5 separate regions of the Homo sapiens genome follow, and all the other regions are linked to region 5. The links are contacts of gene promoters, found by promoter capture Hi-C in blood cells and fetal thymus (Javierre and others, 2016). All regions are on one chromosome and are shown on one strand. The core of a region is centred on a gene start or on the middle of the fragment in contact, and the rest is flanking DNA. Distances in the headings are between cores, read along the strand shown. Region 1 holds the start of SEPTIN1 (septin 1). Region 2 overlaps DCTPP1 (dCTP pyrophosphatase 1). Region 3 holds the start of PRR14 (proline rich 14). Region 4 holds the start of RABEP2 (rabaptin, RAB GTPase binding effector protein 2). Region 5 holds the start of MAZ (MYC associated zinc finger protein).

What was found. The method cuts DNA at HindIII sites, captures the fragments that hold promoters and counts their contacts. A CHiCAGO score of 5 or more calls a contact.
Region 1: a contact is called between the fragment with the promoter of SEPTIN1 here and the fragment with the promoter of MAZ in region 5, in 1 of 17 cell types (activated CD4 T cells). The highest score is 5.5, in activated CD4 T cells.
Region 2: a contact is called between a fragment that was not itself captured here and the fragment with the promoter of MAZ in region 5, in 1 of 17 cell types (fetal thymus). The highest score is 5.7, in fetal thymus.
Region 3: a fragment that was not itself captured here is called in contact with the fragment with the promoter of MAZ in region 5 in 3 of 17 cell types (non-activated CD4 T cells, erythroblasts and naive CD4 T cells); the score reaches 6.6 in non-activated CD4 T cells.
Region 4: the fragment with the promoter of RABEP2 here is called in contact with the fragment with the promoter of MAZ in region 5 in 3 of 17 cell types (fetal thymus, naive B cells and total B cells); the score reaches 8.8 in fetal thymus.

What each region holds. Positions count from the first base shown.
Region 1 is chr16:30,380,699-30,386,272 of GRCh38, reverse strand. SEPTIN1 (septin 1) reads left to right here and starts at 3,712. Exons shown (of 11, transcript NM_001365977.2): 1 at 3,712-3,748; 2 at 3,908-3,998; 3 at 4,094-4,180; 4 at 4,390-4,513; 5 at 4,800-4,934; 6 at 5,029-5,146. The coding sequence starts at 3,731. It also overlaps a transcript of ZNF48 not described here. The HindIII fragment of the contact is 7,382 bases long and covers 1-5,271 here.
Region 2 is chr16:30,424,161-30,429,993 of GRCh38, reverse strand. DCTPP1 (dCTP pyrophosphatase 1) reads left to right here. Exons shown (of 3, transcript NM_024096.2): 1 at 1-114; 2 at 827-937; 3 at 5,461-5,833. The coding sequence starts at 14. The coding sequence ends at 5,761. Among named protein-coding and RNA genes, the nearest start is that of DCTPP1, 3.0 kb to the left of the region's middle. RefSeq lists enhancers at 27-106, 860-1,360, 1,361-1,861. The HindIII fragment of the contact is 4,285 bases long and covers 956-5,240 here.
Region 3 is chr16:30,648,336-30,654,255 of GRCh38, reverse strand. PRR14 (proline rich 14) reads right to left here and starts at 3,296. Exons shown (of 12, transcript NM_024031.5): 1 at 3,129-3,296; 2 at 2,588-2,660; 3 at 2,292-2,460; 4 at 1,414-1,535; 5 at 1,153-1,342; 6 at 848-891; 7 at 1-26. The coding sequence starts at 2,610. RefSeq lists silencers at 2,648-2,937, 3,208-3,407 and enhancers at 3,428-3,837, 3,541-4,056, 4,057-4,574. The HindIII fragment of the contact is 597 bases long and covers 3,515-4,111 here.
Region 4 is chr16:28,921,114-28,926,602 of GRCh38, reverse strand. It overlaps RABEP2 (rabaptin, RAB GTPase binding effector protein 2), which reads left to right and starts at 1,365. Exons shown (of 13, transcript NM_024816.3): 1 at 1,365-1,500; 2 at 1,988-2,200. The coding sequence starts at 1,440. RefSeq lists enhancers at 322-905, 1,884-2,113, 2,144-2,233 and silencers at 1,124-1,473, 1,504-1,723. The HindIII fragment of the contact is 8,433 bases long and covers 1-5,489 here.
Region 5 is chr16:29,803,829-29,809,691 of GRCh38, reverse strand. It overlaps MAZ (MYC associated zinc finger protein), which reads right to left and starts at 3,163. Exons shown (of 5, transcript NM_002383.4): 1 at 2,799-3,163; 2 at 1,864-2,714; 3 at 1,399-1,462; 4 at 951-1,122. The coding sequence starts at 2,990. KIF22 (kinesin family member 22) reads right to left here. Exons shown (of 14, transcript NM_007317.3): 11 at 5,627-5,694; 12 at 4,666-4,878; 13 at 4,518-4,577; 14 at 4,308-4,429. The coding sequence ends at 4,382. It overlaps MVP-DT (MVP divergent transcript), which reads left to right. Exons shown (of 4, transcript NR_186424.1): 4 at 559-1,048. RefSeq lists enhancers at 1,373-1,612, 4,183-4,232 and silencers at 1,693-2,362, 3,263-3,402, 3,533-3,872, 4,613-4,662. The HindIII fragment of the contact is 3,714 bases long and covers 1,658-5,371 here.

The sequences.
Region 1 (5,574 bases), core at 2,463-4,962, 580 kb before region 5:
GGGTCTCGCTCTGTCACCCATGCTAAAGTGTAGTGACACCACAATGACTCATTGCAGCCTCAAATTCCTGGGCTCAAGTGATCCTCCTGCCTCAACCTCCCAACTAGCTGGGGCAACAATTGTGCACCACGATGCCCAGCTAATTTTTTTTTTTTAATTTGTAAAGACAGGATCTCACTGTGTTGCTCAGGCTGGTCTCAAACTCCTGGCCTCAAGTGATCCTCCCACCTCGGCCTCCCAAAGTGCTGAGATTACAGACATGAGCCACTGCCTGGCCTACATGTTATCCTCTTTTTTATTTATTTTTTTAATACAGATCGGGTCTTGCTATGTTGACCAGACTGGTCTTGAACTCCTAGCCTCAAGCAATCCTCCCACCTCAGCCTCCCAAAGCACTGGGATTACAGGCGTGAACCACCACGCCCAACATTTTTTTTTTTCCTTTAAACATGTTATTCTGTCAAAGGCTGTTGAATAACTCAGAGAAGAGTTGATCAGGGTCTGAACCCAAAGCAGGTTAATGGCATGGAGAGTGTGAAGAAAAGGGGACCAATTTTTCTGAAGGATAGGTGGGAATTGGAAACTCACTGGAAACACTTGTGGGGAGTGAGAGTGGGAGGAGTTCAGAAAGTTTTTTTTCCTTTTTTTTGAGACAGAGTCTTGCTCTGTCGCCAGGCTGGAGTGCAGTGGTGTGATCTTGGCTCACTGCAACCTGCGCCTCCTGGGTTCAAGTGATTCTTGTGCCTCAGCCTCCCAAGTAGCTGGGATTACAGGCACGCGCCACCACATCCAACTAATTTTTGTATTTTTAGTAGAGACGGGGTTTCACCATGTTGGCCAGGATGGTCTCGATCTCCTGACCTTCTGATCTGCCTGCCTTGGCCTCCCCAAGTCCTGGGATTACAGGCGTGAACCACCACACCCGGCTGATTTCAGAATTTTAACTAAGACCATAGAGATGCTCAACCTGGTGAGAGATGCAGGAGGAAGGCCGGTGGTGGAGTGCTGAGAGGTAACATGATCCCTGCCCTTTGCTTATTTATTTATTTATATTATTATTATTATTATTATTATTATTATTATTATTATTATTATTTGAGAAAGAGTTTTGCTCTTGTTGCCCAGATTGGAGTGCAATGGCACAATCTCAGCTCACCGCAAACTTCACCTCCCAGGTTCAAGTGATTCTCCTGCTTCAGCTCCCGTGTAGCTGGGATTACAGGCATGCGCCATCACGCCCTGCTAATTTTGTATTTTTAGTAGAGTCAGGGTTTCTCCATGTTGCTCAGGCTGGTCTCGAACTCCTGACCACAGGTGATCTGCCTGACTCAGCCTCCCAAAGTGCTGGGATTACAGGCATGAGCCACCGCGCCTGGCCTACTTATTTATTTTTTTGAGACGGAGTCTTGCCCTGTCGCCCAGGCTGGAGTGCAGTGGCAGGATCTTGGCTCACTGCAACCTACGCCTCTCAGGTTCTAGCAATTCTCCTGCCTCAGCCTCCCTAGTAGCTGTGATTACAGGCGTGCACCACCATGCCTGGCTAATTTTTGTATTCTTAGTAGAGACGGGGGTTTCACCATGTTGGCCAGGCTGGTCTCGAACTCCTGGCCTCAAGTGATCCGACTGCCCTGTCCTCCCAAAATGCTGGAATTACAGGCATGAGCCACCGCACCCAGCCCCCCTTTCCAGATTCTTAACAGTCCCTAGATGGTATTAAGTAGCATTTTTGTTTGTTTGTTTTTTGTTTTTTGAGACGGAGTCTTGCTCTGTCACCAGGCTGGAGTGCAGTGGCACGATCTTGGCTCGCTGCAACCTCCACCTCCTGGGTTCAAGCAATTCTGCTTTAGCCTCCTGAGTAGCTGGGACTACAGGCAATGCCACCATGCCCAGCTAATTTTTTGTATTTTTAGTAGAGATGGGGTTTCACCATGTTGGCCAGGATGGTCTCAATCTCTTGACCTCGTGATCTGCCCGACTCAGCCTCCCAAAGTGCTGGGATTACAGGTGTGAGCCACCGCAGCGGTCCTGAGGTAGATTTGTTTGTTTGTTTGTTTGTTTGAGATAGGGTCTTGCTCTGTTGCCCAGGATGGAGTGTAGCGGTGCAATCTCGGCTCACTGCAACCTCCACCTCCTGGGCTCAAGCAATTCTCTTGCCTCAGATTCCCAAGTAGCTGGAATTATAGGTACGCACCACCATGCCTGGCTAATTTTTGTATTTTTGCTAGACAGGGTCTCGCCATGTTGGCCAGGCTGGTCTTGAACTCCTGGCCTCAAGTGATCCACCCGCCTCGGCCTCCCAAAGTGCTGGGATTACAGGTGTGAGCCACCACGCCAGCCAGGTGCTGGGAATCTGAAGGAGGGACAATGACCCTGCCTAGGGTAGGTGGAGAGATTGCATAGAGGCAGAGCCCTTGGAAAGAAACACTTGAAGGATGAGGAAGAGTTTAACTGATTCAGAAAAAGGAAAAGCTCAATGTGGGTAGAGAGCCAAGGACGTTTGGAAGAGTGAGAGATGGGGTGATGAGGCCAGCTGAGGGAGGCTTTGGCAGTCAGGCCAGAATTCAGACTTGACTCTGAGTTACTGGGGAGTTCCTGAAGGATTTTGAGCAGTGGAGTTCTTTGGCCAGGATTCTGAAGGAAAATCTCTCGGGCAGTGGTGTCCAAAGACCTGGAGTCCTTTTATGAATCCATTGTCTGAGCTGGAAAATGTATGGCTTCACCCACTCCCAATCCCATCATGGCTTCTGGTCCACTTTTTTCTTTTTCTTTTTTTGAAACAGCGTTGGCCTGGCATGGTGGCTCACGCCCGTAATCCCAGCAGTTTGGGAGGCCGAGGCGGGCAGATCACGAGGTCAGGAGATCGAAACCATCCTGGCTAACACGGTGAAATCTCGTCTCTACTAAAAACACAAAAAAATTAGCCAGGCGCGGTAGCAGGTGCCTGTAGTCCCAGCTACTCGGGAGGCTGAGGCAGGAGAATGGCGGGAACCCGGGAGGTGGAGCTTGCAGTGAGCCGAGATGGCGCCACTACACTCCAGCCTGGGCAACAGAGCGAGACTCCGTCTCAAAAAAAGAAAGAAAGAAAGAAAAAGAAACAGGGTTTTGCTGTGTTGCTCAGGCTGGAGTGTAGTGGTGTGATCACAGCTCACTGCAGTCTTGATCTTCTGGGCTCATGCAATCCTCCCACCTCAGCCTCCCCAGTAGCTGGGACTACAGGATTGTACCAACATGCCTGGCTAATTTTTTAATGTTTTGTAGAGATGGTAGAGGGGCACGTCCCTCTGTTGCCCAGGCTGGTCTGGAACTCCTTGGCTCAAGCTGTCCTCCCTCCTCCGCCTCCCAAAGTGCTGAGATTACAGGCGAGAGCCACCTTGCCCGTCCTGGGAACTGTTTTCTAATCAGCTCATCAAAACCTTCATCTCCCCTGCTAACAAAGGGAGCCACTTCCTTCCTCTCTGCACATACCCCATGTCTCACCACGATGATGGAGCTACAGTGGGACTTGGAATCCAGATGTGTGAAGGATGGAGGGTTGAAGGTACGTAGACAGGTGATGGGCAAAGGGGTCCAGGAGGTGGCAACCCCAAGTGTTCTTGGCCTTGGCCTTCCCCACCTCTCTGGGACTGGGCCAGTTTGAGCATCTCAGCTGCCTCTTCTGCCCGCCCCCTTGTTAGCCGCACTCAGCTTCCTGCCCCACCAGAGGAAGTGGGGAGAGACGGCAGGTGCAGTGATGGCTGGCGGAGTCATGGTGAGTCCTTACACCCAGAAACCTGGGCATCTCGGCCCCCAGCCCCCATGCCTGGGGTCCCCAGACCCCACTGACTCTTCCTAGCCCAGGAACTCAAGTGATCCTGGGGACCCTGCCTGCCATTGCCAGCAGCCTCATATTGTCCACCCCCATCCATAGGACAAGGAGTACGTGGGTTTTGCTGCCCTCCCCAACCAGCTGCACCGCAAGTCTGTCAAGAAGGGGTTTGACTTCACGCTAATGGTGGCAGGTCTGGGGGTTTTGGAGAGGGAACTGCGGAGGGGATGTCCTTAGGAGGCCCTGGCTGTCCCCTCCCCTGACCAGTTGGGCCTGTTCTGTCCACAGGGGAGTCAGGCCTAGGGAAATCCACCCTCATCAACAGCCTCTTCCTCACCAACCTCTATGAGGATCGCCAGGTGCCAGAGGCCAGTGGTAAGACCCTCCCCACCCTCTTGAGGCAGTAGCCCCTGTCCCCAGGTTACACCCTAGTCTTTTCCATCTGGGGACTCAGGTAGTTGACTGCTTTTTTTCTGAGACTTTCCTCCCCTGGGAAATGGGTGCAGGCAACTGTGATATTGACAAAGGAAATTAATTCTGCCTCAGAGCCTCCCCGGATCCCTGACCTCTCCCCCATCCCACAGCTCGCTTGACACAGACCCTGGCCATTGAGCGCCGGGGCGTAGAGATTGAGGAAGGGGGTGTGAAAGTGAAGCTGACCCTTGTGGACACACCTGGCTTTGGGGACTCAGTGGACTGCTCTGACTGGTGAGGAAGAGGAAAGGGGACAGAGGCTCAGCCTTTCACAGTGGCGACTCCCTGGAGAGTTACAGGACTGGTTTGTGCTGGCTCCCTATCTCAAAAGGTGGTGTCTGTTTCAGAGGGCCACTGGGTCCCTGTGCTTCTTGATGACTCACCTAGGCCCCCACCAGTTCCCCTTAATGTCTTTGGAGGGAGCCAAAGAAATGACATTCTACTCCCACAGTCCTGGCTAGCCTTGCCCCCTGCCCTCTGGCCTTTGATCTCTGACCTCACATCCTCTCCCCACACCCAGCTGGCTTCCGGTGGTGAAATTCATCGAGGAGCAATTTGAGCAGTACCTTAGGGATGAGAGTGGCCTGAACCGGAAGAACATCCAGGACTCCCGAGTCCACTGCTGCCTCTACTTCATCTCACCCTTCGGCCGGGGGTCTGGTGGGGGGATCCTGGGGGCTGGCGCATTTAGGGAGGGCTGGGGGGTCTCTGCCCCCTGAGGCTGGGCAATGACCAATCCCTGGGTGCAGGCTCCGGCCCCTAGATGTGGCCTTCCTCCGGGCAGTACACGAGAAAGTCAACATCATCCCAGTCATTGGCAAAGCGGATGCTCTGATGCCCCAGGAAACCCAGGCCCTCAAGCAGAAGGTGTGAGTGATGACCTCTGACCTTTGACCCCATGTGAAGCCAAACCTGATTTCAGCTTAGACTTCTTTGATCTTGAAGTGGCCTTTCTGGAGCATGGTGCATCAGGCTAGATTGTAGGAGAAGCTTCTGAGGAAGGCGGGTGGTAAGCCGCCAGCATAGCCATGTCTCTGAAGGCTCAAAATAGGCTACATATGCAGCCCCCGGGCTAGATGCCTGGCTGAGGCCTATTTGAGGGCAGGAGCATAGACATGAGAACATAGTGACTTCCCTCTGGCCCCCACCCCGTGTCTTCAGAGCCCTTTCCCACTGTTTCTGCTTATATCTCTCTCGGCCTCTCTTTCTCTCTCTTTTTTTTTTTAGATAGAGTCTCACTCTGTGGCCCAGGCTGCAGTACAGTGGCAAGATCAGAGCTCACTGCAGCCTCGAAC
Region 2 (5,833 bases), core at 1,849-4,348, 620 kb before region 5:
AGCGGTGGGCGGCATGTCTGTGGCCGGTGGGGAGATTCGTGGGGACACGGGGGGAGAGGACACTGCTGCTCCCGGCCGGTTCAGCTTCAGCCCGGAGCCCACGCTCGAGGACATGTAAGCAGGCCTGGCCCAGCTCGGGGTGGGGAAGTCGCCCCTTTCTCCCGCGTTTTGGGGAGGGTTCCTCCACGTGGTCGGGAAGCGGGCTGGCAGCGGGGCTCGGGTCCTGGCTCTGTGGGCTGTCCCTGGGTGAGCCTTCTTACCTCATCTGCAAAATGGGCGCAGCGGTGCACACCTGAGGCAAGGGAAATTGGGTGGTGCCTCCGAGTGGTAACTAGGAACGCCCTTCAGCCTAGCCCTGGGAAGATACCGGCACCAGATACCGCCTCTGCTCTCCAGGCGCCGGGGGTACGAGAGGGGCAAACGAAGTGCTGAGAGGTGGGAGACGTTATTTTTTGCTGGAGGAGGTCAAGAAAGGCTTCTTAGAGGAAGGGTCTGTGGAACTACCTTCTGTAAGAGAAATTGCATTTTGATGTGCGGCGATTCCAGGTGGAGGAAACTGCAGAAGTAGCAGCAGGAGATGGAATAATGAAGAGGGTTTTGTTAGTTTTGGCGAGATGTTAAGGGCAGTTCAGGGGCACGCCCATTTTATAGATGAGGGAACCAAGTTCCGGAAAGAGGAAATGACCTGCACAATACCATCCAATGAATTAGTTGCAGAATCTCCTGGTCCCAGGCCCCATTACATACTACGGGGGTAGCTGCCTCTGGCCCCTGCATCACCCTCTAACCCGGAGACTTGGACTTACACTCCTTTGTCCTATTTCAGCCGCCGCCTCCATGCTGAGTTTGCTGCGGAACGAGACTGGGAACAGTTCCATCAGCCTCGGAATCTCCTCCTGGCCTTGGTTGGGGAAGTGGGGGAGCTGGCAGAACTCTTGTGAGTAGATGGAAAGCTTCCTGGTAGAGTCTGAGTTGTGGGGGAGGGGAGGGGAGCATTTATTTGGTCTTCAAACATTCATGGGTTCAGTTTCCCCTCCTGATTGCTAGGCTCTTTGCTGTTGTTGGGATGCAGAGAGGACTCACGGGTCCCTGCCCTCTAGGGGCACTCAGCCTCCTGGAAGAGAGAGGTGTGAGGTGTGAAAGCATCAGGACAGGTCCCGTCTAGGAAGAAGCAGTGGCAACAACCCTTTTCCCTTCTTTTGTTTTTTGTTTTTTTGGCTTTTTTTTGAGACGGGGTCTCGCTCTGTCGCCCAGGCTGGAGTGCAGTGGCTCAATTTCGGCTCACTGCAACATCCGCCTCCTGGGTTTAAGCAGTTCTGTCTCAGCCCCCCGAGTAGCTGGGACTACAGGTGCCCCCCACCACGCCTGGCTAATTTTTGTATTTTTAGTGGAGACGGGGTTTCACCATATTGGTCAGGCTAGTCTCAAATTCCTGACCTCAGGTGATCCACCCGCCTTGGCCTCCCAAAGTGCTGGGATTACAGGGGTGAGCCACCACGCCTGGCCCAACAACCCTTTTCCTCTGCCTCTGGGGCTGAAAGGAAGGTATTCTGTAGAGGACCTGCCTGTGGCATTCCAGACATGGGAACTACATTTGCAGGGGCAGTGAGGCAAGAAAGGGCAAGTTCAATTCAGGGAGAATCTGACGCTCCTTCATTGTAAGCATCTCAGGAAAAATCAGGGATTTGGGATCTGTTTTCTCTGATGTGTCCCAAGTGCCCAGCGCATAGTAGGCGCTCAATAGGCACACGTTGGATGAGTGATAGGGCTGTGGAGGAGAGGGGTGGGAGTTGAACCCACAAAGATATGATTAGGGCTAGAGTATGATGGAGAGTTTGGACAGAAGACCTGACCAGATATGAGTGTTGGAAAGGTCACTGTGTCTACAGGGTGGATTGGATGGATCACTGAGAGAATGGGGCAGGGGACACCAGAGAGTTGGCTGGTGTAGACCAGGCAAGAGGCGATGAGCCCTAGACCAGGACAGTCATTTTTTTAAGAGAAAAGGTCTCACTCTGTTGCTGAGGCTGGAGTGTACTGGTGTGATCATAGCTCACTGAAGCCTCAGGAGCTCAAACGATCCTCCCACCTCAGCCTTCGGAGTAGCTGGGTCTACAGGCGTGCGCCACCACCAAGCCTGGCTAATTTATTTTTACTTTTTGTAGAGATGGGATCTCTCGCTGTTGTTGCCCAGGCTGGTCTCAAACTCCTGGTCTCAAGTGATTCACTTGCCTCACCATCCCGCAGCACTGGGGTTACAGGTTGAACCACTGCACATGGCCTCATGACAGATTTATGAACATCACCTATGTGCTAGGTCTTCTAGAATTGAGATATGGCCTGGAACAAGGCAGAAAGGTTTCCACCTTCACAGTGGAAGGAGATTGACAGTAAATCAGTAATCTCATATTAGAAGATCTGGAATTATGACAAGTTCTATGAGGAAAAGAACACAAGGTGATGACCCAGTCTGGCCAACATGGTGAAACCCTGTCTCTACTAAAAATACAAAAATTAGCCAGGCATGGTGGCGGGCGCCTGTAATCCCAGCTACTCAGGAGGCTGAGGCACAAGAATCGCTTGAACCCAGGAGGCAGAGACTGCAGTTAGCCAAGATCACACCATGGCACTCCAGCCTGGGCGACAGAGCAAGACTCTGCCTTAAAAAAAAAAAACAAAAAAGGGGCTGGGCGGGGTGGCTCACACCTGTAATCCCAGCACTTTGGGAGGCTGAGACGGGCAGATCATGAGGTTAGGAGATCAAGACCATCCTGGCTAACACGGTGAAACCCCGTCTCTACTAAAAATACAAAAAAATTAGCCGGGCGTGGTGGCGGGCGCCTGTAGTCCCAGCTACGCAGGAGGCTGAGGCAGGAGAATGGCGTGAACCCAGGAGGCGGAGCTTGCAGTGAGCCGAGATCGCGCCACTGCACTCTAGCCTGGGCGACAGAGCAAGGCTCCGTCTCAAAAAAAAAAAAAACCCAACGAAAAAGGTCCAGGTGCGGTGGCTCACACCTGTAATCCCAGCACTTTGGGAGGCCGAGGCAGGCAGATCACCTGAGGTCAGGAGTTCAAGACCAGCCTGGCCAACATGGTGAAACCCTGTCTCTACTAAAAAATACAACCATTAGCTGGGCATGGTGGCACACCCCTGTAGTCCCAGCTACTCGTGAGGCTGAGGCAGGAGAATTGCTTGAACCCTGGAGGCAGAGGTTGCAGTAAGCCAAGATTGTGCCACTGCATTCCAGCCAGGGCGACAGAGCAAGACTCCGTCTCAAAAAACAAAACAAAACAAAACAAAAAAGACCAGCCTGGCCAACAGGCTGAAACCCTGTCTCTACTAAAAATACAAAAATTAGCCGGGTGTGGTCACAGGCGCCTATAATCACAGCTACTCAGGAGGCTGAGGCAGGAGAATCGCTTGAATCCGGGAGGCAGAGCTGGCAGTGAGCCAAGATCACGCCATTGCACTCCAGCTTAGGCAACAGCAAGACTCTGTCTCAAAAAAAAAAAAAAACCGGCCAGGTGCTGTGGCTCACACCTGTAATCCCAGCATTTTGGGAGACCAAGGCAGGCGGATCATGAGGTCAGGAGATCGAGACCATCCTGGCTGACACGGTGAAACCCCATCTCTACTAAAAATACAAAAAATTAGCTGGGTGTGGTGGCAGGCGCCTGTAGTCGCAGCTACTCAGGAGGCTGAGGCAGGAGAATGGCGTGAACCTGGGAGGCGGAGCTTGCAGTGAGCCAAGATCGTGCCACTGCACTCCAGCCTGGGCGACAGAGCAAGACTCTGTCAAAAACAAAAACGAACAAACAAAAAACACACAAGGTGACGAGCCAGGAGGTGACATCTAGGCTGAGCCCTGAATAACAGGAAGGAGCTAGCCCTGGGAATGATGGGGGATGGGGAAGCATTCAAGGCAGAGGGAGCAGTGAATGCAAAAGGCCTGTGACAGTCTGGCCTGTGTGCAAGGCAGAACAAGCCAAAGTGGCCTTAGGCGGGGAGTGAGAGTGGGGGGCAGTGGCATTGGAAAAGGCAGGCGTCAGCCCATGCAGGACAGGAGGGCTTTGTCAAGAGTTTAGATTGTATTCCAAGCACAGTTTGTATTTTAGCAGAGAAGGGGAAAAATACAATTTGTGGGGTCTCGTTTTGTTTTGTTTTGTTTAGTTTTTGAGACGGAGTTCTGCTCCTGTTACCAAGGCTGGAGTGTGATGGCGTCATGGCGGGTCACTGCAACCTCCGCCTCCCGGGTTCAAGCGATTCTTCTGCCCTCCTGCCTCAGCCTCCCAAGTAGCTGAGATTACAGGCATGCGCCACTATGCCTAACTAATTCGTATTTTCTGTAGAGATGGGGTTTCACCTTGTTGGCCAGGCTGGTCTCGGACTCCTGACCTCAGGTGATCTACCCACTTCACCCTCCCAAAGTGCTGGGATTACAGGCATGAGCCATGGCACCCAGCCAATTTTTTTTGTTTCATTTTGTTTTGTTTTGTTGTTTTTTTGAGACGGAGTCTTGCTCTGTTTCCCAGGCTGGAATGCTGTGGTGCGATCTCGGCTCACTGCAACCTCTGCCTCCTGGGTTCAAGAATTTCTCTGCCTCAGCCTCCTGAGTACCTGGGATTATAGGTGCCCACCACCATGCCCAGCTAATTTTTTTGTATATTTAGTAGAGACGGGGTTTCACCATCTTGGCCAGGCTGGTCTTGAACTCCTGACCTCATGATCCACCCGCTTCAGCCTCCCCAAGTGCTGGGATTATAGGCGTGAGCCACTGCGCCAAGCCTGATTTGTGCTTTTAAAAGATGGTGTGGGCCGGGTGCGGTGGCTCATGCCTGTAATCCCAGCACTTTGAGAGGCCGAGGAGGGCGGCTCACCTGAGGTCAGGAGTTCGAGACCAGCCTGGCCAATATGGCAAAACCCTGTCTCTACTAGAAAAACAAAATTAGCCGGGCATGGCGGCACATGCCTGTAATCCCAGCAACTCGGAAGACGGAGGCAGGAGAATCGCTTGAACCCGGGAGGCGGAGGTTGCAGTATCGCCCCATTGCACTCCACTCCAGCCTGGGCGACAGAGCGAGACTCCGTCTCAAAAAATAGAAAAGATGGTCTGGGCAGGAGTAGAAGATGAGCTAGCCAGGAGATGAGTGGGGAGGCTTCTGCAGTGGTCCAGGTCCGAGGTTTGGTCTGTGGTGGTGACGGCTAGGGCTGGAGAGAATTAGAATTGGGCCTCAAAGCTTTGTCTCAACAGATGAAACATTCTTTTGGCCACTCCTTGGCCCAGGGAGAGACACAGACATCTTGGTATCATCTGTCGGGGTCTCTTCCCCACCTGACTCTTCCCAGGGCCCAGATTGGTTAGGTCGTCCTTGGAGGTGGGTGTTATTACTGCAAGGACTGGCAGAGCCCATTGCCCCAGGTTACATCTGAGTGTGTGTCTGTCTGTGTTCTGCCCCTAGTCAGTGGAAAACCGATGGGGAACCTGGCCCCCAAGGCTGGTCCCCCAGGGAACGGGCAGCCCTTCAAGAGGAGCTTAGTGACGTCCTCATCTACCTGGTGGCATTAGCAGCCCGCTGCCGTGTGGATCTGCCGCTAGCAGTGCTCTCCAAAATGGACATCAACCGGCGACGCTACCCAGCCCATCTGGCCCGCAGCTCTTCCCGCAAGTATACAGAATTGCCCCATGGGGCCATCTCTGAAGACCAGGCTGTGGGGCCTGCGGACATTCCCTGTGACTCCACAGGCCAGACCTCAACCTAGAAAGATGGCCACAGGACTTGCAACTCAGGGTGGTGTCTGAAGAGCAGAGAGTGGCCTGGCCCTGGAGCCTTT
Region 3 (5,920 bases), core at 2,564-5,063, 840 kb before region 5:
GGCGAACTATCCTCATGGGCTCAGCTCTGGGGTGAAGGGCAAGGTAAAGGCTAGGGGAACTTCCAGGTATCCCACCTGAGCCAGCAACTCCCCTATCCCTTAAGGCTTCTTCTTTTTTTTTTTTTTTGAGACAGAGCCTTGCTCTGTGGCCCAGGCTGGAGTGCAGGGGCACAATCTCAGCTCACTGCAGCCTTGAACTCCCAGGCTCAGGCAGTCCTCCCACCTCAGCCTCCCAAGTGGCTAGAACTACATGCATGGACCACCACATCCAACTAATTTAAAACAATATCTTGTCTGAGCATGGTGGCTCTCGCCTGTAATCCCAGCACTTTGGGAGGCCGAGGTGGGTGGATCACCTGAGGTCAGGAGTTCAAGAGCCTGGCCAACGTGGTGAAACCTCGTCTCTACTAAACATACAAAAACTAGCCGGGCATTGTGGCGGATGCCTGTAATCCCAGCTACTCGGGAGGCTGAGGCAGGAGAATCACTTGAACCCAGGAGGCAGAGGTTGCAGTGAGCTGAGATCGCACCATTGCACTCCAGCCTGGGCAACAGAGCAAAAACTCCATCTCAAAAACAAACAAATAAATAAACAAAACGTTTTGTAGAGATATGGTCACAGTGATGTGGTTGCCCAGGCTGGCCTCAAACTCCTGGGCTCAAGCGATTCTCCTGCCTTGGCCTCCTAAAGTGCTGGCATTAGGCATGGGCGTGCCCGGCCCCTTAAGGCTTTTTAAGATGCCACAAGGAAGGATTGGATCAGTCAGTCCCGATGCCCCTAGCTCTGGCTACCTGGATGATGGCTGTTGCCTGGATCCTTTGATAATCCCTACTCCAGCCCTCTCACCTTTGTGCTGGGATGATGAAGTTGGGGGTCTCATCAATGAAGCCCTGGATAAAAATAGGGGATGTTTGTGGGGAGGCAGGAAAGCCCCCTTAGTGCCCCACATCCTGACTCTTTCAGTTCCCGGATAGCTGCTTGGGTTCACGCCAAAGACGTTTTTATATAGTCTTTGCTCAGGCAGTGTCTGCCGCCTAAAATGCCATCCTCCTCACCCCAAGAAAAACCCACCTAAGACTCAGGCCTCCTACCCTTCTATCCCTGCTGGAACCCAGCAGAACCCTTGACATCCGTACCCTCAGTTCCCATACCTCAGCGGGGGGTCTAGGACTGGCGATGTCTTCCAGCATCACCACCAGGGTGGGCTGGGGGGCCCGGTCCACCTTTTGTGAAGGGCCCTCCTCTGGGCCAGGGGTTGTCCTTGATCGCCGCCTCAGGGTGGAAGAGGTCCGGTGGATGCGGCTCAAGGGCTCGCGACACAAACACAGAGGGTCGGGAGGCCTAGCGAGGGAACAGGAAGATTAAAATGGCTCAGCTGGGCCCTCGGCTTACCCCCATCCTGCCATGCTCACCTGGCCTGCGAGGACCACCCGGCCTGCCGGGGTGGCGAGGCAGGCGGCTGCCTGTGGACAGGATCCTGATGGTAGCTGTGGTGCTGTGGTATGGAGGTCTGCTTTGAGGGCACCACGGGGACCTGGAAGAGAAAGAGGTGTCAAGAGCAAGGTGATAGAATGAGGCTGGACGGGACAAGGTTTCCCTGTGCCTCACAGTGCCCTGAGCCACAAACATAACAGAGATTGGGGCTAGAATTCACTCGGATCCCAAGAGAAGAGATGAATTGGACTGAATTAGGGGCCAGATATTAAGAGTCCTAAACTGCAGGTGTAGGACCTGGGTAATCTCATCCACGCTGTTTAGAGAAATGAAAAAGACAGGGTGAGCTAGGGTGGGTCACTGCCTTTTTTGGGCCAGTTTTTCTTATCTGTGCAGTGGAGTCAAAGACCTCAGCCTGCTTCCTAAGGAGGCTGGGCTGGGAAGAAAGCAGAAGAGTTTCGGCCCAGCGCCGTGGCTCACGCCTGTAATCCCAATACTTTGGGAGGCAGAGATGGGAAGATCGCTTGATGCCAGTTTGAGACCAGCTTGTGCAACATAGCAAGACCCTGTCTCTAAAAAAAAAAAAAAGATAGAAAAAAAGAAGCAGAAGAGTTTCTCAGAGTTACAGGGATGTGGTTCCAGCCCAAAATCGTTGGTGGGTGGAATGGGCACTGCCCAATTCTAGGTTGGAGTAAGTGGGAGCCAAGCAGGACTCTACCATGAGGGAGGCTGCCTGAGGGCTGAGTACAACAATGATGGATTTGGACTTCAGTTATCCTCAGTAGGGATCTGGCCCGAGTTTGGTAGTGAGGAAAGTCATGGGGGAATAGAGAGTCTCTTGGTTCAGGGGGCTCACCATGTGAACAGCCATGACATCTTCTAGCACCACGGCCAGGACCCGCCGAGAGGCCTTTTCCAGGGGAGAAGGGGCCCCCGGGAGCTGCAGCCTCGGCCGTTTCGGGCTCCTGGCTCCCCATAATGCTCGAGTCAGAGGCTGGCGGCACAGACGCGGCTGGCCAGGCGGGCTGGAGGGTGAAAGAAGCAGAGGACGGTCGCCCGAACCTGTCGCTGGCTCTGTAGTTTCCCGGCACGGTCGCCAGGATCCCCATCTCCCGGGGTCAAGACAGGCGGGCCGCCCGGGTACGCTCTCACCTGGAGTCCCCGGGCAAGTCCATGGGAGACGCGGCGGCTCCGGGGGGGTCCCTGGGGAATCCCAGGCTGCGGCCTGGGGTAAGGGGGGAGCGGGGGAGCGGGGGGTGAGGGCCGGCCCCTTCCCTGGGGCTCCGCCCTTCATGGTCCGCCCGCGGCTCCCCGTAGCCCAGCGGCCGCAGCCCTGGGGCGCGAAAGGGCGCCCCCGGCCGGTCGCCCGGAGCGGGTGTCCTCCCGCTGCCACCGCCTCGATCAGCGGATCACTCGCGCCCTGCCTGGCACCTGCCGCCAGAACCCAGAATGCAGCGGCCCCAGTTCTCCCGCGGCCCGAGCCTCCCGAGGCCTTTGTCCCTGCAGATTATGCCCCGAGATCCCCCGGGATCCACGGGGATCCCGGTCCTGGGAGGCTATTTCCGCTGGATCCCTCTGCGATCCTCCTCCTCTCCCAGCGAGTGGCCGAGGACTCCAAAGCAATACTCCATACATCGACGACCCTCCATCCCACCAGATCCCCTAGACTGGATCCCTGAGGAAAGAATCCTACAGCGCGGTTCCGCCAATCAGACGCCGGGCGAGGCTTTTCCTTCCCCTGTAAGCTTCAGCGCCGCAAAGCTCCGCTCAGACAGGGGCGGCCCGAGCTGGAGCATCTCCGAACTCAGCGTAGATCCCCAGGGATCCACTGTCAAGCAGATACCCTCTTCACTCCAATCCCGGGAGGTCCCGCCCACAGACGCCCCTTCCCTCCTCGCGTCCCCGCCCAGCGGTCTCCCCCGGCCCGGGACCAGATGGTTCAGAAGTTTCCTTCCCCGCCCCCACTCCCGCCCTCTCTCCAGCCACTCCTTGCCCTCCCCCAAGGGCTGCTCACCGCCGCCTCCCGTGGATCCCGGGTCTTCCGCAGCTCCCACCTCCGGCTCCTTTAAAAACCAAGCTTACCCAACGCTGCCCAACCGCCGATGGCCTTCTTCTCGGAGCCTCTGGACACCGCCCAATCGCCGGTCCCCGTCTTCCGGGGTGGTGAGAAACTAAGTGAAGCCACCTGGCGGCCATCATCCCTAGGGGCAGGAAGCCAAACTGAGTGGCGCCGCCATGATGGTTGAGGGCAGATGTCTTAGTCCTCGTTGAACCGTGGTGGACCGGGTGGCGTCATCTTTTGAGGGCCATATACAATGCCAGGTTTCTTGATATGTTGAGGCAACCGATTGAAGCTAGAGTGCCGCCACGCTTTTTAAGGGCATCTTCCGGTTCTTTCGTTCTTAGGCCAATAAACGTCGACTGAGTGCTAACGATATGTGAAATTCCCAATTTCCTAGAGTGGCCTCGTTTGAGGAAGGTTCCGGCATCTTCCTGGGTTCCTAAACTGGGTTCCCACGGCCCAGGGTCCGAGTTTAGGAGGGGGTGGTGGAGGCCCTGAGTCCGAACACCCGGGATCAAAGACGGGCTGGTGCGGCCTGTGGCTCCGTTGCTGGCGCCTTGTCCTGGAGAGATGGGACCGAGCCGAAGTGGGGAGGAGACTGGGGGCGCTAAGCTTGACTTCCCCTGAGTGTTGCCCACCTACTTCTTCCTGGAGAAGTGGGGGTGCCCACGGTCCGCGCAGAGGTCTATAGGACAGGGGCATCTTTGCAGGAGGCCAAGAATATACCTTGGCTTGCTAGTGGGGCCCGGCTCTCAGGAACCACTGTCTCAAGTGGGGCCCGCAGGATGGGGGAGGTGTAAATAGTCCTGAGGAGTAAGGGATCAGGGTGGGACGCTGCTGCTTGGAGGAGCTGCGTCATGGACCCTTTACTGGAAGCTGGGCTGTTGGTGGGGAGGAAGTGGGCATGTAGTGGCTTCTTGCAGCGCTATGAAGGTGCCCTGACCGCTTAACCAAAGCCCATGTCTGCACTAGTTCTCCTTCCCCAGATTCCCTGGTCCAAACCAGTACTTCTTTTCTTTTTTAATTTTTTTTTTTTAATTTGAGGCAGGATCTCGCTATGTTGCCCAGGCTGATCTTGAACACCTGGGCTCAAGTAGTCCTCCCGCCTCAGCGTCCCAAAGTGCTGGGATTACAGGCGTGAGCGCCCAGCACGAGTCCTTATTTTGTTTTCTTAACAGAACGAGAGACCCTGAAGCCTAGAATCCTGGGTCCGAGATAAGGTGCAGAGGTGCTTCCTGGTTTAGGTGTCATAATTCTCAGGGGATTGAGTGATGAAAGTGATAAAACAGGGCCGGGTGTGGTGGCTCACACCTGTTATCCCAGCACTTTGGGAGGCAGAAGATAGCGGATCACTTGAGGCCAGGAGTTCAAGACCAGCCCGGCCAACATGGCAAGACCCCATCTCTAAAAAAAAAAATACAAAAAAATGAGCCGAGCATGGTGGCGCACGCCTGTAGTCCCAGCTACTCAGGAGGCTGAGGTGGGAGGCTCTCTTGAGCCTGGGAGGTCGCAGCTGCAGTGGGCTATGATCGCGCCACTGCACTCTAGCCTGGGCGACAGAGACCCTGTCTCAAAACAGACAAACAAACAAGGGATGATATGGAAAGCATAATCGAGAAGGGCTTATGTGGGAAATGGAGGCTCCCCAGCTCCGTCCCTAAGGACTCATGCAGGGAGACGTTCTTGCAGGACTACAGCATCTCTGTAACAGGAGGTCCGCTGGGTCCTCTGGAAACCCATTCAGACTTCTGGTGGGAGCAGGCCGCCGTGGTTCTTCCACGTAGAGGTGTTTCTCTCCCTCTGGATCAGGGCTGGCAGTATGGGTGCCTGAGGAGGTACAGTGATGTTTCATCCAGCTGTGAGTGCTTGGAGATTCTTTCAACCTTGCCAAATTAAGACCTAAACCCCACAGGTGCTTTTCAGGCCCCAGGGCAGGAAAAACTTTCAAAAGCAGAGCAGGCCTAACCTGAGTTTTTAGGTATTTTTTGTTTGTTTGTTTTTTGTTTTTGAGACGCTCTGTCGCCCAGGCTGGAGTGCAGTGGCGCCATCTCAGCTCACTACAACCTCCGCCTCCTGGGTTCAAGCGATTCTCGTGCCTCAGCCTCCCAAGTATCTGGGACGACAGGTGCTCACCACCACGGCCGGCTAGTTTTTTGTATTTTTAGTAGAGACGGGGTTTCGCCATGTTGGCCAAGCTGGTCTCGAACTCCTGGCCTCAAGTGATCTGCCCGCCTCGGCCTCCCAAATTGCTGGGATTATAGGCATGAGCCACCACACCTGGCCCTAATCTGAGTTTTGATTCTCTAGGTCTCTTGAAGTCAATGACACCAAGGGTAAAAGATGTAGTCCAAAGAAAAGTCCTGGACCTGAGTATTTGGTAGGAAGAGCCCACCAGTGTGACCCTAACTTGGGGTGCTAGAGTT
Region 4 (5,489 bases), core at 116-2,615, 880 kb after region 5:
ATAAGTGAGAACATGCATGTTTAGCTTTCTGTTGCTGCATTAATTTGCTGAGGATAATAGCTTCTAGCTTCATCCATGTCCCTGCAAAGGACATGATCTCGTTCCTTTTTATGGCTGTATAGTATTCCATGGTGTATATGTACCACATTTTCTTTATCCAGTCTATCATTGATGGGCATTTGGGTTGAGTCCATGTCTTTGCTATTTTGAATAGTGCTTCAATGAACATACTCGTGCATGTATCTTTGTAATAGAATGATTTATATTCCTTTAGGTATATACCCAGTAATGGGATTTCTGGGTCAAATGGTATTTCTGGTTCTAGGTCTTTGAGGAATCACCACACTGTCTTCCACAATGGTTGAACTAATTTACATTCCCACCAACAGTGTAAAAGCGTTCTACCTTTGGCCATTTTCAAACTGCATTATCTGTTTTACAAAAATCGCTCCAGCTGCTTTACGGAGAATTAATTAATTAAAGGGTGGAGTCGACACTGCGGAAGTTCAGGAGAAGTGATGGGAGCTGGGACGGAGTGTTAGCGCTGGAGATGGAGAAAAAGGGGCACATTCTGGAATAGTCAGCACATTGGAAGTAGAGTTTACGGGACTTGCAGGAGGACACGTAGAATCAAGGACTTCCAGGTTCCTGGCGTGTCCTTTACAGAGGGAAAAAAGGTTTGAGGGAAGGGGAACCAAGGCTCTGGACATAAATCTGAATTGCCTGTCACCGTCCGGGTGGAGGTCACAGATAAAGAGCCTGATCTAGACACAGGCGGAGAGGAGAGGAGGGATTTGAGGGCGTTGGGAGGAGGAAAGGGGGGCCAGCAGGAAGCGGTGACTGGCTGAGTAACAAAATGGGGGTGGGGACGTGCAAGTTTCAGACTCCGACTAACTACGCGGGGACTCCGAGGCGCTCAGAAAAATGAAGCCGACCCGGCCCTGCCCCGAGGGACGCTCCAAGAGGGCGGAGGTGCAGGGAGGGCCCCGCCACAATTCGCGGTAACGCAAGCCAGGCTCGGGCGGAAGGGCGGCCGGAGCCGATCAAAGGCTGGCTCCGGGCAGGGGCAGCGAGGGAGCGAGGGGGAGCTCTCCGCAGGCCGGTGTCCCGGAGGAGGCATAATTGGAGCAGGGCTTCCAAGGTCACGGAGAGACGCCGGGCAAGACCTCTTAAGGATCCTCTTCCGGGCTTGAAAGGCAGGCGTCCTCCCGAACCGCGCGACCCAGCCAAGAAGAGCCGGGGCGGGGCCGGGGCCGGGGCCGGGGGCCGACTCGGGAATCTTCGGCCGAGGCTCGGCAATCCCCCCATCCTCCGTCCGGGGCCTCCAGCCCGGGGCCGATCCGGAAACAGCCGAGCGGATCCGGAAACAGCCGAGAGGACCCGGAAGCGGTGCGCTCCGTCACCAGGGAGTGCGGGAATCCGCCGTTTGCGCTGAGGCAATGGCGGCAGCTGCGCCGGTGGCCGCGGACGACGATGAGCGGCGGCGGCGGCCGGGGGCTGGTACGTGAGGGGGCGTCCGTGCAAGCGGGGAACGGTGATGCTGGGGGCGGGGCCGAGCCAGCCACCTGCGGATGGGGGGTGGAGAGGGATGATGGAGGAAGGGGCGGGGCCACGCCGTCGGGAAAGGGGGCGGGGCCTACAGCCACAGGCAAAAGGGGGCGTGGCCCGGCCATTGAAGGGGTAGGGCCAGTGACAGGTGCGAAGTGGGGCCCGGTGAGGAAGGGGCGCGGCCACTAGGAGGGCGGGGCCAGGTGGGACCGAAGAGAGGACTGAGTGAAACTGGCCACCGCGAAGAGATGGAGTGTAGGCAGCACCCGGCAGAGCGAGTGGGAAGGGGGCGGGGCAGGGGCGGGGCCAGGTGAGCCGGGCGGGCCCAGGTGAAGGAGGCCCCAGATGAAGGCAACAGTACTAGGTTGCAGGACTTGCTAAGCCGGTAGGTGGCCTGGGGTAAGAGATGGGAAGAGAGGCTGATCCCTGTCCCCCACAGCACTGGAGGACTCCCGGTCCCAGGAAGGGGCAAATGGTGAGGCCGAGTCAGGTGAGCTCAGCCGGCTTCGGGCTGAGCTGGCAGGCGCCCTGGCAGAAATGGAAACCATGAAGGCTGTGGCAGAGGTGAGCGAGAGCACGAAGGCCGAGGCTGTGGCTGCGGTGCAGCGGCAGTGCCAAGAGGAGGTGGCCTCGCTGCAGGCCATCCTGAAAGGTGAGACGCGGGACTCACCTAGACTCCCCATCAACCCCATACTGGGGAGTGCATGACGAGAAAGGGATTGGGGGCACAGATAAGCTATGGGATAGGTTAGCAGGGCTGCCTGGCACAGGGCATGCCTATGGCCCAGAGGAAGGGCCGCCCTTTTAAAATTTGCATAGAGGCCCTCCATGTGATAGCAGCAGCTCTGTCAGTTATAGCTAAGTTTAGCTCCCAGCTTCTATCTGTTGCCTTGTCCCATGTCATTTCTTGTCCCTCACTGATGATTGATCAACCCTGAAGATGGGCGAGAAACTTCTCAGTTCCCCAAACCAACCTCATTTTAGTCTGGACTTCTGGGAAATAGAATCAGCCCTGGCCCAGTCTCTGTGAGTCTAATGCTCTGCTCTCTAGCCTTCCCCAGACACTCCCCCCTCCACCCCACGCCATGCACCAGCTTCCCCACCTCCGCCCCACGTTCTTTGTACTTGGTCCTCTGGCCCCAGACGCCCCAGCTGCTGATCCTGTTTTCTACTCTCCTTCCTCTAGCAGAAGCCAGAGACTCTGAAACAGATGTCAGAGCTGCCCCCGCTGCTATGCCCCTGCTGCGGTGGGGCTCTCGTCAACTCTCTCCTGGACTTTTGTCCCAACCTTCTCACAGATCTTCCTCTATAGTGTGGCCTTGACATTGGCTTCCAGAGTAAACTTCCTAAAATTCCCTTCCCAACATGCGATTTCCCTTTCTAACAGCTGCTGGTGGCTGGAGACTTCTCTGGGGCTGTATTTCCCACATTTCAGGATCCACCTGCCTGTGCAATGTAGACACATCCTTGTACAACTTACTGTGCTGTTTACTTAATATTTGTTCTTTAAATAGATCCACATTTTAAAAGTTTACATACATTTATTAAGGGAAACTTGTTATATCTACTATATAAGAAAAGCCAGGTGTGTCCTAAATAATAACAATAGCTAGCTTTTTTTTTTTTTCTTGAGTCAATAAGAGTTTCACTCTGTCGCCCAAGCTGGAGTGCGTCACAGCACGCTGGTGTGATCTCAGCTCACTGCAACCTCCACCTCCTGGGCTCAAGCAGATCCTCCTACCTCAGCCTCCCAAGTAGCCAAGACTACAGGTGCATGCCACCATGCCTGGCTAATTTTTAGTATTTTTTTGTAGAAACAGGGTCTCTCTATGTTACCCAGACAGGTCTTGAACTCCTGAGCTCAAACGATCTGCCTGCCTTGGCCTCCCAAAGTGCTGGGATTACAGGTGTGAGCCACCGCGCCTGGCCAGGTAGCATGTTTTGAGCACTCACTATGTGCCAGGCACTGAGCTAAATGCTTTATGAGTAACTAATCTTCATAACAAACTCTGTGAGGCAGGAACTATTACCCATCTCCATTTTACAGAGGAAGCTCTGAGGCCCGGAGAGGTTAAATAACTTGCCCAAGGTCATATAGCTGGAAAACAGCCAAAGGTTGGAAACCAAGCAGCCTAACAGCTGAACCTATTTTTTTTTTTTTCTGAGACAGTGTCTCACTGTTACCCAGACTGGAGTTCAGTGGTGCAGTCTCAGCTCACTGCAACCTCCACCTCCCGGGTTCAAGCGATTCTCCTTCCTCAGCCTCCCAAGTAGCTGGGACTACAGGCGTGTGCCACCACACGTGGCTAATTTTTTTTTTCTTTTCTTTTGAGATGGAGTCTTACTCTGTCGCCCAGGCTGGAGTACAGTGGTGTGATCTTGGCTTACTGCAAGCTCCACCTCCCGGGTTCATGCTATTCTCCTGCCTCAGCCTCCCAACCAGCTGGGACTACAGGTGCTCGCCACCACGCCTGACTAATTTTTTTTTTTAATTTTTAGTAGAGACGGGGTTTCACTGTGTTAGCCAGGATGGTCTCGATCTCCTGACCTCGTGATCTGCCTGCCTCGACCTCCCAGAGTGCTGGGATTAGAGGGGTGACCCACCACGCCCGGCCCCATTTTTTGTATTTTTAGTAGAGATGGGGTTTCACCGTGTTAGCCAGGATAGTCTCGATCTCCTGACCTTGTGATCCGCCCACCTCGGCCTCCCAAAGTGCTGGAATTAGAGGCGTGAGCCAGCACGCCCGGCCCAGCTGAACCTTTACTTCTACTGTTAGTGCACAATAATAGGTCAATATCTATACAAACAAAAAATGACCACGTTCTACCAAAAATCAAACAAGTCCATGTTACTCAGGTGGGAGGATCAGTTGAGGTCAGGAGTTTGAGACCAGCCTGGGCACCAAAGTGAGACCCTTAGCTGGGTATGGTGGCAAGTGCCTGTGGTCCCTGCTACTTGGGAGGGTGAGGTGGGAGGTTCACTTGAGCCCAAGAGTTTAAGGCTGCAGTGAACTATGATTGCACCACTGCACTCCAGCCTGGGTGACAGAGGGAGACCCTGACTCTCTTTTTTTTGTTTTTTTGTTTTTTGAGACGGAGTCCCGCTCAGTCACCCAGGCTGAAGTGCGGTGGCACAATCTCGGTTCACTGCAACCTCCGCCTCCTGGGTTCAAACAATTCTCCTGCCTCAGCCTCCCAAGTAGCTGGGATTACAGGCGCCCACCACCATGCCTGGTTAAATTTTGTGTTTTCAGTAGAGACAAGGTTTCACTATGTTGGCCAGGCTGGTCTCGAACTCCTGACCTAGATGATCTGCCCACCTCGGCCTCCCAAAGTGCTGGGATTACAGGTATGAGCCACAGCGCCCGAACCTGACTCCCTTAAAAAAAAAAAAAAAAAAAAAAAAATCTATGTTCTATCCAACATCACCTCCATCTCCTGCTGACCTGTAGAATAAGTTCCAAACCTCTTGGCGTCACATTCAAGGCCCTGGGAGCCACCCACTGCCTCCTTTCCAGTGTCTCTCCTTGGGCGCCTTCACTGTTCCAGTCCCTCCAACATATTCCACCATGCCACAGCCACGCCAGCTGCTCTTCCGCTGCTCACACTGGTCCTGTTAACTCATGCATCTTTCCCTCCTTCACTGTCTACCACTGTCCTCTCCTGCCTGGCCAGGCAGGCAGAGTGAGGGCTCCTTCCTCTGGGATATCCAAGCCCAGGAAGGGTCCTCTCCTGTACCTCTTCCCATACTGCATCCTAACTATTGCCACAGCCGCCCTCTTCATTGGACTGTGAGCTCCCGGTGGCAGGCTTTGTGTTTGATTAATTTCTGTATTTCCAGAGCCCAGCTCAGAGTCTGATCCAGCGTAAATATTTATTACTACGATTAAGGGCCGGGTGTGGTGGCTCATGCCTGTAATCCCAGCACTTTGGGAGGCTGA
Region 5 (5,863 bases), core at 1,914-4,413:
CCCCCCCAGATGGGTCTGCATGTGGCCGGCCAGCTGGGCAGGGGTCTTGCAGTGCACGCTGCACAGCTTGCACAGGATGCGGTCAGCCCGCGGGGCCTGGAGCCCGTGGTCCTTCACCGCGTGGATGCGCAGGTATGCTGCCGTGGTGAAGCCTATTGGGGGGTGGATTGGGATGGGGCGGGGGTCAGCCAGGCGGAGACCCCAGAGACGGGGCTGATCTCCTAGGCGGGGGATGCCCTCCTCAGATGGCCCTGTCCTCCTCCCACGGTATCCTTGGTAGCCTGGGGCCAACTGCTCTGTTGGGGCTGGTAGACACAGCCCCTCCCTGAGCCTGGGGCCTGGCTTGTGTGGTGCCCGCTTCTCAGCCTTGGTACCTACAGAACTCATTCTCCATGGCCGGGAGACCTCTCCCAGGATGACGAGACACTGACTCCTAGCCACTTGCAGGGTTGACCCTCAGCAGAGACGGCTGTGTCCCCTTCCCTCCAGTGCCCCGCGGTCTCAACCCAGTTAACCGGTGAGTCTGACTGAAGGCAGCTTTCTCTGCTACCCGTGCAGGGTGCGTGCTGGTAAAGCCCGGCCCGTGTACTCCACCTGCCCCAGGAGCTGGAGACAAGACCTTGTGGCTGCGCAGCGGAAACCTTGCCTTGTGACCCCTGGAACTGGCTTTCTTGACTACTCCTTCCCCAGAGCAGCCAAGTTCCACTCCCGCTTTCCCCACACATTACCAGGAGGTTCAACCTCTCTGGCAGATCATCTCTTCCAACCAGGACTTCTTAGAGTCTAATGATGTTCATTCAGGTGTCCCCCCGCTGCTCCCTTGACCTCTTGTAGGAATCTAGACGCCACGAGCTCTTGGCTACAGCACCCTTAACCCGTATCCGTGGCAAGGCGTCTGGCCAGGCGCCCACCCTCTGCCCCTGGCCCTCCCGGCAGCCCTCGGCATGTACCTTTGTTGCAGAGCTCACAGACATGGTGAGGACCCTGGCTGTGCACCTTCATGTGGTCCGAAATATAAGCCGAGCTCAGCATCTTGCCACACACGTGACATGGCACTTTCTCCTCGTGTCGTACTGTGTGCGCCCGCAGCCGATCCTTCGTGGCGAAAGCTGCCTCACATTTCTGAGGAGGGGGGAGGGGCGTGGGGGGTGTCACAGGAGAGTTAAAGCTTGGTGGGCTGGGGAGGGGGGAGCAAGAGATTAAAGGAATCAGAGCCTTGGGGATCTTTGATCTGTAGGAAATGGGAGTGACATGATGAGGCCTTGAAGAAGGGATGAGAAAATGGAGCAAAAAGGCAAAAAGAAGAGAGAGAAAAAGGGGGTCTGAGAGACTGACTCAGACAGCTACCATGAGGATCAAAATCATGAAAACCAAGACAGGAGGAGGCGGGCTTCCTACCTCACATTTGAAGGGCCGTTCTGTTGAGTGCACTTGTCTGACGTGACTGTTGAGGTGATCCGGCCTGGGGACACGTTGGGGTTGGGGTTAGGGCGGAGGTGGTGCGCCCCAAATCCACCAAACCGCACCACAGGCCTTTCCGAGGATCCCTGCGCCTCCTCCCGGAGCCCAGGCCGTCACAGCGACACTTAAGCAGGAAATCCCTCCCCTGGAGCCCAGCAGCCGCTGCCGCCGCCGCCGCCTCCTCCCACGCGAAGCTTCCGTCAACCCCAAGGCCCACCTCCTCGACAAAGGACCACCCCTTGCTCCCTGGTAACCGGGAGAGGCTTCCTCCCTCCGCCCTGGGAGTGGCTCCCCTTCCCCAGCCTCAGCAGCCGCCTCCCTCCCCGCCAGCCACGGCCAGGCCACCTCCGTCGCGTCCCTCCCTCCCCACGGCCTAGCGGGCGGCCGAGGCCCCGTGCACACCGGGAGAAGCTCTTGCCACAGTGGGAGCAGTTGTAGGGCTTGTGCACAGCGCCGTCATGTGAGCGCACGTGGTAGCTCATGCGGTCCTTGCGCTTGAAGCGCTGCTGGCACACCGGGCACTGGTAGGGCTTCTCGTCCGAGTGCGACAGCTTGTGTCGGTTCAGGTGGTAGACGTCGCGGAAGGCCTTGCCACACATCTCGCAGGCATGGTTCTTCCGGATGCGCTTCCCCGAGGCGGTCGTGGTCACCACGCCACCGGCGGCCACTGCGGCAGCGCCGCCGCCGGCACCCGCCTCTCCCCCTCCCCCGCCGGCTCCGCTCAGCTGGGGCACGCTCAGGAGGCTCAGGGGCACCATGGTCGGCATCTTCATAGCACCCGAGGGGACCCGGCCGGCCTTGGCTCCCGTGTGGATGGCTTCGTGCCTCCGGAGATTGTAGCCGTTCTTGAACTCCTTGGCGCACAGAGCGCAGATGTAGGGCCCCTTGCTCTTTGTCTTCTTCTCCAAGGCAGACGCGACCGGGGCCACGGCGACCGTCGAGGTTGGGGCTACGACGGCGGTGGCCGCCGCCGCGGCGATAGTGGCGGCGGAGGCGGGGGGCGCGGCCTCGGCCGCGGGCGCCGACACTGGCGGGGGTGGCGGAGGGGGCGCCGGAGGCTGCTTCAGGGCCGCTGTGTCCACCGTAGAGGCGGCGGCAGGGGCCGGGGGCGCGGCAGCGACGGCGGCAGCAGCGGCGGCAGCGGCCGCAGCAGCCGCGGCGGACTCCTGGGCGGCGGCGAGCACCGGGAGCAAGTCCACCTGGAGGGGCTCGGCCGCCGGGGCCTGGGGCGTGGGCGGGGGCGCCGGCGCGGCCTGCGGAGACAAGGCGCCGAGTGGGCCGCGGGTGCGGGCGGGCGTCCCCCCCCAGCCCGGGCCGCCGCGGCCGGCCCTACTCACCTGGAATGGACTCTGGGCGCAGCCCTGGGAGGCAAAGAAGCGGGACTGGAGCTCAGCCCCGACCTGCAGGGGGTTCTGGGCGTGACCCTGAGGTGGCGGGAAGGAGTTCATGAGGCCGCCCACCCCCCGGGAGTCCAGGCCCAGCACGGGGAAGGGGGGGGCCAGCAGCGTGCAAGGAAACACCGGGAACATGGCCTCGGCCGCAGCGGGGCCCCCGGGGCTCAGCGGGGGCCGGGGGCGCGGGCCGCGCGGGGCCCGGGCTCGGGGCGCCGCCCCCGGCCGGCCGGGCTGGGCCGCGCCGAACGCATGGCCCGCGGGCCGCCCCGCCGCCCGCGCACCCCGGCCGGCGGGAGGGAGGAAAAGAGGGCGCCTTGCGGGCCGCGGAGCGCCGCGGCGACGGCGGCGGCGACGCCCCCTGGGTGGGGGCGGGAGGCCCCGCGGGGCCGGGGCCGGGGGCGGGGGCCCGGGCGGCGGCGGCGGCGGCGGCGGCGGTTGGAGCCTGGCGGGGCGGGGTGGGGGGAGCGAGGGAGCAGCCTCGGCCCCCGCCGCGCGCGCGCCCAGCCGGCGCCTCGGGGAGGGCGGGGGAGGGCGCGAGGGAGGGAGGGGGACAGCTGCGCGCGCACCGGGCGCGCGGAGGGGGGGTGGGACGGGAGGGAGGGCGGGCAGGAGGGGGTGTGGGCAGGGGGGTGGGGGCGGGGGGAGGGAGTTGTTACCTGGAAGATGAAGCTGCTCCAGTTGCTGGGATCCATGGCGGAGGGAGGGAGGGAGGTGGCTCGCGCTCACCCTGGGGCGGGAGGAGGAGGCGGCGGCGGTGGGGGAGGGGGAACCCGGGAGGAGGCGCGCGGGGCGGGCAGGAGGGGGGAGGTGGAGGGTGGGGGAAGCGGAGCACACTACGCGCGGGGAGGGCGGGCGGGGGGCGCGAGGACACACAAGAGGCTGGAGCGGGCGCGAGCGCTAGCGCGAGCGCGCGCGTGGCCAGCGGGAGGGGCAGGCGCGAGAGGGACTCTGGCGGGAGGAGGGACGGGGGAGCCACCCAGCAGCCCGAGTCGCCCCGAGCGCGAGACCCCTGAGACGGCTGCTGATTGGCTGACGATGGCGCAGGTGGTGGGCGCGCGGGAGACAGGGCGGCTTCTCTCCTCTTCCCCCCGCCAACGATTCCACTCCCCCTCCCTCCGCCAGCGGCCGTTATTTCGCGCGCACGCGCACAAGGCCGCCGTCGTTGCCGAGCGGGAGAATGGGGGAGCGCGCGCGCCGGGGGCACGGACGGGGCGGGGCTAATCCCTGAGCGCGCGCCCGCCTAACGGTCGCAGGCCTCATGCTTCGGCTTCCGCTTTTTGCGTCCTGCAGGCCACCGTCCTCCCCGCCCCACCCCAGCGGTGTATTTACAATCCTGCGCTGAGTCGTTCCCCGAAGATGGCGCCCAGTGGAGTCGCCTGCCTTGCTCGCGGCCCACCCCGAGGCGGTCACACCCCGGTCCCGCCCCCGCAGCCCCAAAAATCAGGCGGAAGCACCGGAGCAAAAACTGTATTTACACAACACGGGGTTATACAAAAATTTGAAAAGGCGGAGTGAGGAGACGACGGTCAGGAGGCGCCACAGCGCTGGCCGGCGGCGAGACCCAGGATGTTTGCCTGCAACACAGGAGGGAGGGAGACAGCGACGTTAGAGAGGGGCGCGGGGCGCAGGACAGGCAGAGGAGGGGCAGGGCCGTGACTTCACCTTCAGGAAGGACTCCATCTGTTTCCCCGTTATGCCCTCCACGCGTTCCAGGTCCTCCACCTGGCGGGACAGGATCGATAGGGGACAGGGTCTCGGGGGTACCCGGTCTCCCCCGCCCCCGCCCTCCCCCAGTCCAGTGGGCTGCTACCTGGCTGAAGGGGCCGTGGAGCTCCCGCCAGCCCACGATTAGCTGGGCCTTCTTCGGGCCAATGCGCTGAAGACTGCGGAGATCTCGGGCTGAGCCTTCGTTCAGCAGATCCAGTATTTTTTGGCGCCCATGAGCCAGTAGCTCCGGGCTGATCTGTAGCTCCCAGCAGTCCTCAGCCTTCTCCTCAGGCTCTAGGGCATCCAGGGACTCCAGCTGGGAGGCAAAGGGAGATGAGTGACACGCAGGGCAGCCAAGTGCTTTGGGCTCCTCTGCCAAGACTAGGAGCCCAGCACCAGCTACCTCCTGCGCTCCAGCCTCTTCCTCTCTTGTCAAGTGTGTCCAAAATCCCGCCCTCAGGTCACTCTCTGGGTTAATTCTTATTATGCAACTAGTGAAAGAGAGGTACTACTCAGTACCCAGTGGTAATATTAGCACCCTTCTCATGGAGTTGCTGTGGAGATCAAGTGAGTTAATGAATGTAAAGCACAAAATAAGCTCTTAAATCTGGTCCCTCATCTCTAAAAGGGAAAGAATAAGCTGTCTTTCAAAAAGTACATGGGAGAAAGTAATATGAATAAATGATACCTCCCCCAACCATCTCAGTTTTTGGGTAGTTCTAGTGGTGTTCGATTCTGGGTATGTGCATATGTGTGGTTTCTTGCTTGACTGCTTAGGTCATAGTTCCCTAAGTTTTCCCTCTTAAGCTTGTAGAGGGTAGAAGCCAGGCTACACAGTGGAACATCCGCTCTGCGAGGTACATCCACATCACTGCCTTCCACCCTAAATGCCCTGCAAGGAACCATCCATCACCACATTCCAGGGGTAAGCAAGTTGAGGTCTGTTAGTAGCTGGCGGCCATCATCCAGTTCGTTTAACCCCAAGGCCAACGCTCCTCCCCCTAGAGCCTACTCCCCCTTACTTCTGGGCTCCAGGTGTAGCCTAAGCCCCCAGCTACTTTCACCTTTCTCTTCCGGCCTTTATTCTTCAGGATGTGGATCTCGGCATTTGGGGATGCTGCCTGCTCCTGAACTGAAAGTAGGAATCGAGAATTGGAGTCAGGGCAAAGGGTACTTTTCACCCTCCCTGGTAGCCCTTCGATTCTTCCATTTCTGATTCCCCAGCTCCCCTCCATCCAGAGTTAACCTGTTGTGTTTCCACATGACCTTTTTTATACCCGCATTTAAAGGAATTTCAGTCA